2 separate regions of the Homo sapiens genome follow, and region 1 is linked to region 2. The links are contacts of gene promoters, found by promoter capture Hi-C in blood cells and fetal thymus (Javierre and others, 2016). All regions are on one chromosome and are shown on one strand. The core of a region is centred on a gene start or on the middle of the fragment in contact, and the rest is flanking DNA. Distances in the headings are between cores, read along the strand shown. Region 1 overlaps PEBP4 (phosphatidylethanolamine binding protein 4). Region 2 holds the start of PHYHIP (phytanoyl-CoA 2-hydroxylase interacting protein).

Region 1 (5,485 bases), core at 2,102-4,601, 690 kb before region 2:
GCTGGGGGCTCAGCGGCCTTTTGCCCAAGGCTGGACTTCAGGAGCCACTGGAAGGGTGGGAGGTGGAAGGTGGGAGGGGCAATGCAGGGTTCCCCACCAGGAAGCTGCTCTTGGCCTACTCCCAGGCCCCAGGTTCAGGGAGCTCCCTTTCCAGATCTATTCTCCAAATTACATCCTCACAGGGTCCCCTTAGATATCACCCCCAGCAAGGCACTGTGGACCGCTGTGGGTGGCTACCGGCAGGCTGTAGAGCGGCTTAGCCCTGCAAGGTGTTAGGAAAGGCTGGGGACCTGCAACACCCACTCTCTACCCACACCCTTTCTCTCTCAGTGATGTCTTAACCCTCGTTAACCCTACAGAGGACTTAGGTCATGGAGATAAATTATAATAGAAGGGCAAGCAAAAACAGTTTTAAAAAATGTCTTTGAAAAATCTTACCTGTGTTCCTGAGTGTCAAATATAAGCATGCACTTACAGCCAGCCTGGTGCTGTCATGGCCCAGCCCGGCCTGCCCTGCCCTGCAGGCTCTGTTGCCTTGCTCTGCATCATATTTTCTTCCCTTCCAGGAAGCCACATTCTTAGAACCCTGGTGCTGTTCGGGCCCTTCTTCTCAGGGAGCAAATACATGAACTGGTTCATTCATACTGACAGTCTTAGTGAGCCAGTGTTTTACCCCCTGAGGGATGTTTGCATTTTGAAAGAGAACCTAGGCTACAGTCAATGCTTAACCCAAAGAAGCCAATTCTTCACCTAATGGTGGGATTTCAGGCATGGGGAGCTCTTGATTGTTTAGGGGAGAGAGAAGGTCTATGCCCTTGAAGGAAGCTGTGCTGACTTGCTAAGCTTTTCTTTCTGTAATAAGAATGTTCCTGAAAAGCAATCTATAGGTATTGTTTTTATAAACTCAATCCTACTTTAAAGACACTAAGTTTGCCTAAGGATATCTGTTCTTCTAGGGAAGTAAAGGCTGATGATAATTAATATTATACTTTCTGATGACTTACAACGTGCCAGGTTCTGTTCTGACCATTGACCGCCACTTTTCTTCTCACACTGACTCCATGAGGGAGGAATTATTAGTGTCTTCGTTTTACAGGTGAGGAAACTGAGGCACAAGGAGGTCAAGTAACTCTTCGGTCACACAACTAGTTAGTGGCAGGTTTAGGATTTGATCCCATTTCACTTTACATTCCCAATAGTGCTAGACTGAAGCCTTGGGAACCCCAGGCTCCCTTAAAACCCTGACACAGGGCAACCTCCCCTCTCTCTTCATAGGGGCCTTGAAGTTTTCTACCCAGAGTTGGGGAACATTGGCTGCAAGGTTGTTCCTGATTGTAACAACTACAGACAGAAGATCACCTCCTGGATGGAGCCGATAGTCAAGTTCCCGGGGGCCGTGGACGTGAGTGAGCAGGGCTGTGTTAAAGCGGGGGGACAGTTGGGGGTCTTGATGTTCCTCCAGGCTTGCTCATCTGGGTGACTTGAAGCTGCGTGCAGAGCCATCTGGGTTGGGTCTGGTGGCTGCAGATGGCTGTTGCCATAAAGTTGTGCCTTCCTTAGAGTGGACTTGAGGAGAAGGCTGGGGGCTGGTGGGAGGGCTGCAGACTGGAAACTTTGGTGATGGTTGAGGCCATTCTGCCCAGGCCTTTTCCTGCTCCCCTGCTCTGGGAGCTCCTTGGCTGCCCCTGAGATCTGGGACCCCAAGCCTGGTGGAGACCAGCTGGTGTGTGCTTTGGAGTTGGCAGATAAGTGGAAGAAGGCGTGGTATGGGAGGAGTCCTCTCTCAAGGCGCGGGGTGCCTGGGCCTTCAGATGGCTTCTGGGCTGGAGAGAAGCTGGTATTTACCAAGACAGAGCTTCCCAAGTTGCCTAAACAGGCAGAGGTCAGTGCATCTTGACGCTTTGTTGTCACAACATGAGACACGCTCTTCTTTTGCCCAAAGTTGTGTAAAAGAAGAACAAAGCATTTTAGGAACTGGAAATAACTATTTTACTGGGCAGTGATTAGTGCTATTACATTTAGGGGTCTGGAAAGCCTGGGGAAGAGTCATAGAAGTGGGAAATGGGTCTGCTGCTGCCCTAAGCAGCCAGAGTGTGTTTTGGGGAAGCTGATCTGGCCTTCTGGTCTCCGCTTCTTTATTTCTTGACTCCTGGGCCAGACTGAGCCCGCAGAGTGTCAATGGTGGAGACTGGCCTCTTTTCTGCTGTGTTTTAGAAGGAGGTGCTGCTGTCAATCTAGGCAGGACTTGGGTCACAAATGCCTGGAGATGGAAGGGTCGTGGCCGGGATGTGACCAAGCACACACACCAAGGCTGACCTTCTGGTCCTTTCTGTGCAGGGTGGCAGGGAAGGGCCACAAGGGGTTCTTCCTTCCCCTCAGTGCTGCCTTGGTTAGGCCTCATGCAGTCAGCTAAGCCCAGTAGGACAACAAGCTCCAGAGGGCGGCAGCACACAAGTTACTCCAATGCGGGGAATAGACTCTTCTCTTTGAAGTGTTTTTCACTATCAGAGAGCAAATAGATTGTGATATGGCTCGCAAGTTATGAGGCTGTTGTCATGAAGCTTTGCTAGGTTGTCTTGTTTGCAAACACGACAAACACCCTTTCCTTTGGGAAGACGAGCAATAAAGTGCACACGTGCACATGTGTGCACATGTGCACACACACACTTGCATGCACACCCATGTGCACACAGCGTCAGCCCTCTTCCCTGGAAACCCTTGGACTGGGCACACCTGTGGACAGCCAAGAGGAGCAGAGAAAGGAAGCCTGCTGATTCTAACTCCTGGGATGGGAGGTGCAGAGGCCGGGCAGGAACCCAATCTTTTAGAGGAGTATATGCTACTCTGCGGGACAGGACTCTCGGCTTCACCATCCATTCACTTGTCTTGGGGTTTGTCCCTTATGTAGTGAGGGTCAGTCGGATGCTTTCACAGGCCAGGGACAGTCCCAAGGGAATTCTCCCCAAAGGGCTCCCTTCCGCGTGCTGATGATGCTGCAGACATCCACTAGATGGCAGTGTAGACTTTTCTGAGCACCTGGTGTCCTCCAGAGCAGGGATTTGAAGCCTGTTGGGAAAGTCTTTGGTTTGATTTGGTTTCGTTGCCCTGGCTTATCAGCACATTACACAAAGACGACATCACCCACGCCACATCCTGAAGTCTTGTACTGTTAAACCCATCCTGCCTCAGCCCGGGGGTGGGGTGGGGAGAAAACGGATGTGGAACATAGAGATTTATGAGGAACACAGAGCTGTGGTCAAGAAAGCCTGGGAGAGTGAAGATTTTACAAAGGAAGATTTGATCGAAGCTGTGGGAAGAAGAAAAACATAGTATTCTACTACTATGGAACTATAGTTTATGGAAATGTAACAGACCTATGAGAAGGCAGATTCAGAGAGATTTGCCAAAGTGGTCAGTGAGTGCCACCTTATTCCATTCCTGGGCACTACTCGGACCTTTCATTTAAGTCTCCAAGTTAAGTATTTCTTTCATCAAGACTATTAATGGCATGTGACAAAAAGTCAACTCAAATCGGCTTAAGCCAGAAAAGAGGGGGAAACATTGGTTCACAAAACTGAAAACTCCAGGGATAACTTCAGGCGAGGCTGGATCCAGGTGCTCAGTGTCACCAGGAATCTGTCTCTTGATTGTTTTTTTCTGTGCTGTTTTCATTTGTAAATAGAGTCTTCCCTTGTGACAAAGATGGCCCCAACAGCCTTAGGTTTGTGTTTGACCAATTTGTCAACCCCAGTGGAAATAGGGTTTTCCATCCATTAAAAGTCACAGGATTGGTCTCGCTTTGGTCTTGTGCCTATCCCTGAACCTAGCAGTGACCCTCTACAGCTCCCCTTAATCTACAAGGACTGAGAGTAGAGGAGGATGGTTGCCCTGAATGCAAGTCAAGGTGTGATTGATCAGATAAGGGTGAAAGGATGTTAGGTAGGAAATGCAAGGCAGGTCCTATGGAAGTGAGTAATCTGGCCAAGTACAGAGCTGAAAGGTGCCAGAGCCAGAGTCAAAGCCAGGTCTGCCCAACTCCAGAGCCCATGGGCCTGGCCAGTGGGCCACTGGCAAGGGCTCTAAGGGAGACACCAGGGGGCGCTGGCACAGGCAGGGGTGGGCTGGCCGAAGGGAAGCTTTCCCTGGTTAGAATGGAAGGGGGTGGGCAGGAAGGATAGTTCTTCCTAGGGAAGGTGGTAGTTGGAGCTTCCCTTAAGGGAGAGGGCATGACTGGTGAGGCTGGAGGAGCAAGTGCTACCTGGGTCCCTCAAGAAAAGGGTGCGGGGAGCCTGAGTGTTTAGGACAGAGAAGAGCATGAAGGTATTTCTTCTGGGCCTGATGGAGAAGGGCACGAGTTGGTGACTGCTATGTGGGGATGGTGCATTGCTTCCAAGGTGACTGAAGCAATGCCACCAAAGCAGTGACTGCCATTGGACATGCCTGGGAACACCCCCCCCTCCCCCGCCCCCAGCAAACTCCAAAGCCCTGGAAAGAGGGGTGCAGCAGTGCCTCTGTGCCCACCATAGAGCTTCCCACCTCCATATTCTGGCATTGGCCACTTCCCCATCCTTGGCGTCTTTGGACCCTGCTCCCGTCACAATGCTTCCTCCTCTAGGAAGCCTTCCCTGACTGCCTCCCTCTGGGCTCCACCTACATCCCTGGCTGATCTTTTCTTTCTCTGTGCTTTTAAAATGTTCCTACCCTCTAAACTGGGTTTTGACTTCCCTGTGTCTTGTGCTGTAGTTGCTCATTCCTGTCTCTCAAAGCTTCAAGCACTTTGTAAGTTAGGAGAGAAAGACTATGTGTTGTCTTTCTTTGAGTCACCCGTGGGCCCCACCAGCACCTCAGATGCCATGCTGGCTGACTGGGTGACTAGGTGAGAGAGTGAACAGGTGAATGCATGAATGCATGAATGCATGAATGAATGAATGAATGAATGACATGTGGGAGAGCATCTCCTGGAGTGTGAGCTATGAGCTGTGTCAGCCAAACTGTCGGCCCTTTCAGCATCTGTTGAAGGAAAGCTGCTAAACCTAGTGAACCCAGGGCAGCAGGACTCTCTCCTCCCCCTAGGGGTGGGGTGTGAGCTGGGGGGTGGGTGGGGAAGCAGGCAGAGAAAGAGAGGAAGTCAGGCAGGTTCATGAGAAGGCAAAGTAACACAGGAAAACGTGGCTGGCTCCCGTGCCAGCTATGGCTGAGCGAGAGAGGTGTGGAAGTAAGAGGAAGCGTTTCTCCCCTGGCGCTCTGACAAACATGAAGAGGCAAACATTTAAAAATGCATCCCGTTCTCAAGCCAAGGAAAACTGAAAGGCCCCTGAGAAGCTTCTTGACTGGGGGCTTATTCTCCACCTTAAATTTCGCCAGCTGGAATCCTTTTGAAGTGCAGAAATTGCCTTTAAGTGGGGAATGTGCATTGCATTACAGGGAGGGAACAAAAGGCTGCCTCGGTCTGTCCTGCTCTCCCTGGAGTTTCCAATCAGGCTTG
Region 2 (5,379 bases), core at 2,808-5,307:
CTTAAAGTGGTTAAATATTTAAGTTTTCTACAAAATCTAAAATATATATATCTTTGAGACAGGTTCTCGCTTTGTCACCCAGACTGGAGTGCAGTGAAGCGATCATGCCTCACTGCAGCCTCCAAATCCTAGGCTCAAGCAATCCTGCTGCCTCAGCCTCCAGAGTAGTTGGGACTATAGGCCCATGCCACCATGCCCAGCTAATTTTTGTACTCTTTGTGAAGACGGGGTTTCACCATGTTGCCCAGACTGGTCTCGAACTCCTGGGTTCAAGTGATCTGCCCACTTCAGACTCCTAAAGAGCTGAGATTACAGGTATGAGCCACTGCACCCAGCCATAAAATACTTTTTCTTTAGTTTAGTAAATGTTTTTAGAATTAGGTTAATGCTCTTCATTAAAATAGATGACCAGTGAAGGTTATAGGTTGTCTAAACATAATATCGAAAAGAAAAGGAAATAAGCACTGAGAAATCCATGTAGTTCTTATAAATACTCATGGCCCACTCTTGTCATTGTAAACACATGTAAAGGACAAAAGTGGTTTCCACGGACTACCTGATGTATGTGCATTCATTGGCTCACCGGATCCCCACACTGAGTTCAGCCATAGGGAAATACACATAAACATTTTAAATCTATAAAGTGCATAAGCAATATTAAGACTGTAAATATGTTTTGCTTATAGTCTCATTCTCTATTACATCAGACTCTATATTTGCTATGCATCTTTCTACCACGAGGAATCTGGCCTTGGTACTCAGACAGACCTGAATTTGAATACTAACTAGTTTTACTACTTATGGCCTGAGTCCTCTTTCCCACCCTCCACCTTTTTAAAATGGAGTTGATCAGCTGGGCATGGTGGCTCACACCTGTAATCCTAGCACTTTGAGAGGCCGAGGCAGGAGGATCACTGGAGACCAGGAGTTGGAGATCAGCCTGACCAACATAGTGAGAGCCTGTCTCTACAAAAAAAAAAAAAAAAAAAAAAAAAAAATTTGTTGTTGAGATGGAGTCTCACCCTGTCACCCAGGCTGGAGTACAGTGGCGTGATCTTGGCTCACTGCAACCTCCACCTCCCAGGTTCTGGGAGACAGAACAACAGAGCGAGACTCTGTCTCAAAAAAAAAAAAAAAAAAAAAAAAAGGTTATATGATGAACAGAAAAGATATTGGTAAGTGAAAAAAGCAGGTTACAAAACAGCATTCTTTCATTCTATTTTTGTTAATAAATTCTATACAAGTATTGGCTGGGTGTGGTGGCTCGCACCTGTGTAATCCCAACTACTTTGGAAGGCCAAGGCGGGTGGATTGCTTGCATTTAGGAGTTTGGGACCAGCCTGGGCAACACAGTGAGACCCCATCTCTACAAAAAATAAAAAAAATAGCCAGGTGTGGTGGTGTGCGCCTATACTCTCAGCTATTCAGGGGACTGAGGTGGGAGGATTACTTAAGCCAGGGAGGCAGAGGTTGCAGTGAGCCAAGTTTGCGCCACTGCACTCCAGCCGGGGTGACAGAGCAAGACCCTGTCTCGAAAAAAATTAATTAAAAAAATTCTTTATATGTATTTAATGTGTATTTCTGCATGGTGGGAAAATGAGAGATTTAAATTCCCTCTTAAATTTTAAAATGAAATGTGCTCGTCTCTCTACAATGATCATGTGCTACTTGTGTCATAAAAAGTTATGAAAAATAAAAATGCAGCAGAAGTGCATCTTGGCGGTTGTTTGGTTTCATAGGGAGTGAGTTATACTTGGCACACTATGGTTTGCTCTTACCACGTGTTTCCTCTCGTGATCTGTAGAGAAGTCCTCTGAGGCAAGAAGAGGCAGAAGCTCCTAAAGGGCTGTGCCTTCACCTGTCGCCGGCACGCAGCTCCACAAAGGGGCGCTCAGATGGCTATTGCTCATGCTTGGGCCACAGGACCTCGTGCAGTCTCCTCATGACATCCCGAGAAGGTGGGAGGCAGGGATGGTGCTGGGGCTAGTTTTCCTTTGGCAGAAGGGGAAACCAAGTCACAGAGAACCTGCCTTTTTCCTTGCACTGCCCCTCTGTGTGGTCCTAGGGACAGGATTTTATTATTTATTTATTTATTTATTTTTCGAGGCACAATCTCACTCTGTCACTCAGGCTGGAGTGCAGTGGTGCAATCTTGGCTCACTGCAACCTCCACCTCCCGGGTTCAAGCGATTCTTGTGCCTCAGCCTCCCAAGTAGCTGGGATTACAGGCGCCCACCACCACACCCAGCTAATTTTTATATTTTTAGTAGAGATGGGGTTTCGCCATGTTAGCTAGGCTGGTCTCGAACTCCTGATCTCAGGTGATCTGCCTGCCTCAGTCTCCCAAAGTGTTCGGATTCTTGTGAGCCACTGCGCCCGGCCTGGGACAGAATTGTAGTCCAGATGTCATGTGCTGGCCATCACCAGGAGGTTACGTTTTGCATCTCTTCTGAGCTCACCAGCTCGGCGTGGGTATGTCGGAGCAGGACGTAGTCATGCTTGGCCAAGGGGGTGCTTAGTCCTGCCTCAGTGCCACGCACCACCCCACATTCGGCAGTTCAGGACCTGGCCAGGCTCACTGAGGTTCTCACAGCCGTTTCAGGCAGGGTTGGCTTCTGCTTGTCTTTGCATTCTGTGAACTCTCACTTTCTGCTGCTGTTACCTCCTCTGACTTTTGCACTGAGGCCTGCCGCCTCAACTCCCTCTTGGTGAGTGTTTCTTAGGCTCAGCTCACACCTTCTCCTGCTCACCAAGACCTCACCCTGGGCCTGCCTGGTGTCAGCTGCCCCCGTGCCAATCCTCCCCACCCCAGCCGCACTCCTGCTTCCACAGCCTCCTCTGGCCTGCACCCTGCACGTGCCCTGGAGCCGCCCATTGTTCTTTCTCTGAATGAGTATCTGTGCCCTACGATTTAGTTGTGTGCTCCTCATTCTCTAATTGCATCCTCTAAATGGCCATCTTCTCTCCCGTAGAGGACTGTGGGCTCCTTGCAGGAAGATGCTGTCGATATGATGGGAACAAGAACAGTTCTGACATGTGACTGGCACTTCTGATGTGCCAGGCCCAGGGCTGGGCGATTTACCTAATTATTTCATTCCATGATGACAATAAACCTGTGTGATCCCACTTGACAGATGAAGAGAGGTTGAGTGGCTTGTCCAAGGTCCCCCAGCTGGGTAGCAGTAGAGCAGGGATTCTCAGCACATCCATCTGACTGTGAGCCTGTGCTTTTCACCACTGCGCAACCCTCTGTCCCTGCTTGCTGCTGGACTCACATTTCCTTGGATGTTCTTCCCGATGGCCTCCACGGAGTCTGCTTCTTGATGGCAGAACAGCCTCCTGCTGCCGTGAGAGCAGAATTACATTCTCTCCCCAAGATGCCCAGGGCCGGCTTCCTTTGTGCTCAGAGAGTGGGGTGGGCTGAGGACACTCAGAGCTTGGTGTGTTCTCCCACCCCCATTTTCTTACCCCTGTGCACCCTGCACTGTGCCACAGCCTCTCTCCCAGCCCCTTTTCCTGTGGACCCCCAAGCTGCCAGAGGGTTCTTGCCAGACCCACAGGGATCCCTGAGCTGCAGGTCTGCCATCTCTCTCTAGAGTTGGTAAGAAAATGGAACCACAGTTCACCAAAAGGCCCCAAGGAGAGGCTCCGGACTGAAGACAGCCACCCCAGCTTCACACCCCCCATCTGGACCTTTCCCCTCTACAGCCTCCCTCCCCTTCCCCCAATCAGAGTCTTTGCTTTGGGGCCCAAGCCCTTGGCTAAGCTCCACCCCTCTCCCAGCATCCTAAAGTTTGGGGGCTGCATTCAAGTCAGAGATTTCCAAGTAGGGGGTGTGTTGGAGGGACTTCTGAGGGCAGCTTGTCCTGGAAGAATGGGGGAAAGGCGGCGTGTGTTGCTGTCCCTGAGGACATCTGTGTAGCTCCCTGGGAGACCCTCTGCCCTTTCCCCCTCCCACCAGCCCGGCGAGCAGGGACCAAGCCTGCTTATTATCACCTGACGCTGCGCAGCCGCTGATCCCATTGGTGGAGGCAGATTCGGTCTGGCTCTCTCGTTCTTTCTCCCTTCTCTGCCTCTCTCTCCTCCACGCTGCTTTGATTTCGCTCTTGCCTCTCTTCTTGCGCTGCTCAGCTGGGAACATCGTCTCACCAGGGGCAGCAGCGACGCGCTGCACAGCCAGACAGGAGCTGGCTGCGGGGCATGGAAGCAGCCTCCTTGGCAGCCGGGAGAGGAGCAAGCGCACGCCACTGCCCGTGACCCAGGCGTCCGGCTGCTGTCCCCTGCCGGGGAGCTCATCCACGCAGAGGTCTCTCCCTGTCCTCCCTGCGAGCTTTTCCTCTGCAGAGCCCAGTGGAGCCAGGTGAGTACCCTTCCTCCCTGGAACCTGCTGCTGTTGATCCTGAGTAGCCGGGATCTGGGGGCTCTAGGGTCCTGCCACCACCCAGGGTGCCCACCTGGACTGCCAGGCCTGACGACCTTGTCCCCTCTCCCCCCCCCCGGCCAGGCCTTTGGCAAAGTGGTTAATGGCTGAATCCAGTCTCTGGGGCACCACAGTTAGTCACCCCGTGACCGTTCTGCTGCAGTCAGCGATGCCAACAGGGACAGCAGGGTGGGGGAAGCATTCCCTGTGGCAGGGTGGCTGTTTGAATGGGCATGGGGAAGGGGCACCGGTGTGCGCGGCGTGTGTGTGTGCGCGCTCGCGAGTTGGCTGGAGGCTTGCTGGCGCAGATAGGTCCGTCTGTCCGCAGTCATGCTCATGTGTGGGTTTTGAATGGTGTGAGGCATGTCTAGAAACATATCTTTCTGGCACACGTGAGGTACATGTGTGTGGGGGACTTATTTGAGTAGCCTGTGGGTGTGCGTGGGTGGGGACACTATGAGGCAGTATATTTAGGGGTAACCATGTCCCTTTTCATGTGTGTGGGAGTGTATGCAGACAGGGGCTTTCTATATGGGGAGGTGAGACCCAGAGCAGGATGGAGTGGGTAAAGAGAAGAAGGGGCAGAAACCATTGTCTGTGGGCAGAGCCACGTAGGTGCACAAACCTGTTGGCATGAAGGCTCAGGGCTGGCAGAGTGTGGCCAGAGGCAAACACATTTTCAAAGTCTGTCTTTGAGCCTGGAGATGATTCGAGAGAGAATACCAGACTTCGGGCGGGGGCTGCTGTGTGTATGAACACACATGTGTGTGCCGGCAGGCGTGTGGGTTGCGTGCCTTCTTGTGGAGGTGGCACACATGCATGTTGGTGCCTGTGGCATCCTCTTTTCCCCACATATGGCTTGTGAGGCGGTGTGCGTGGACGTGTGTGTGCGTGAGCCTGTGGACATGAACATGTCTGGGTGTGCATGGAGGTGACAGATTGAAGAGGGAAAACTGTGG

What was found. The method cuts DNA at HindIII sites, captures the fragments that hold promoters and counts their contacts. A CHiCAGO score of 5 or more calls a contact.
Region 1: a contact is called between a fragment that was not itself captured here and the fragment with the promoter of PHYHIP in region 2, in 2 of 17 cell types (non-activated CD4 T cells and naive CD4 T cells). The highest score is 6.1, in non-activated CD4 T cells.

Annotation. Positions count from the first base shown.
Region 1 is chr8:22,916,101-22,921,585 of GRCh38, reverse strand. PEBP4 (phosphatidylethanolamine binding protein 4) reads left to right here. Exons shown (of 7, transcript NM_144962.3): 3 at 1,276-1,402. Among named protein-coding and RNA genes, the nearest start is that of PEBP4, 9.1 kb to the left of the region's middle. RefSeq lists an enhancer at 1,112-2,040. The HindIII fragment of the contact is 1,575 bases long and covers 2,564-4,138 here.
Region 2 is chr8:22,230,777-22,236,155 of GRCh38, reverse strand. It overlaps PHYHIP (phytanoyl-CoA 2-hydroxylase interacting protein), which reads left to right and starts at 4,057. Exons shown (of 5, transcript NM_014759.5): 1 at 4,057-4,360. RefSeq lists enhancers at 3,680-4,427, 5,353-5,379. The HindIII fragment of the contact is 17,584 bases long and covers 1-5,379 here.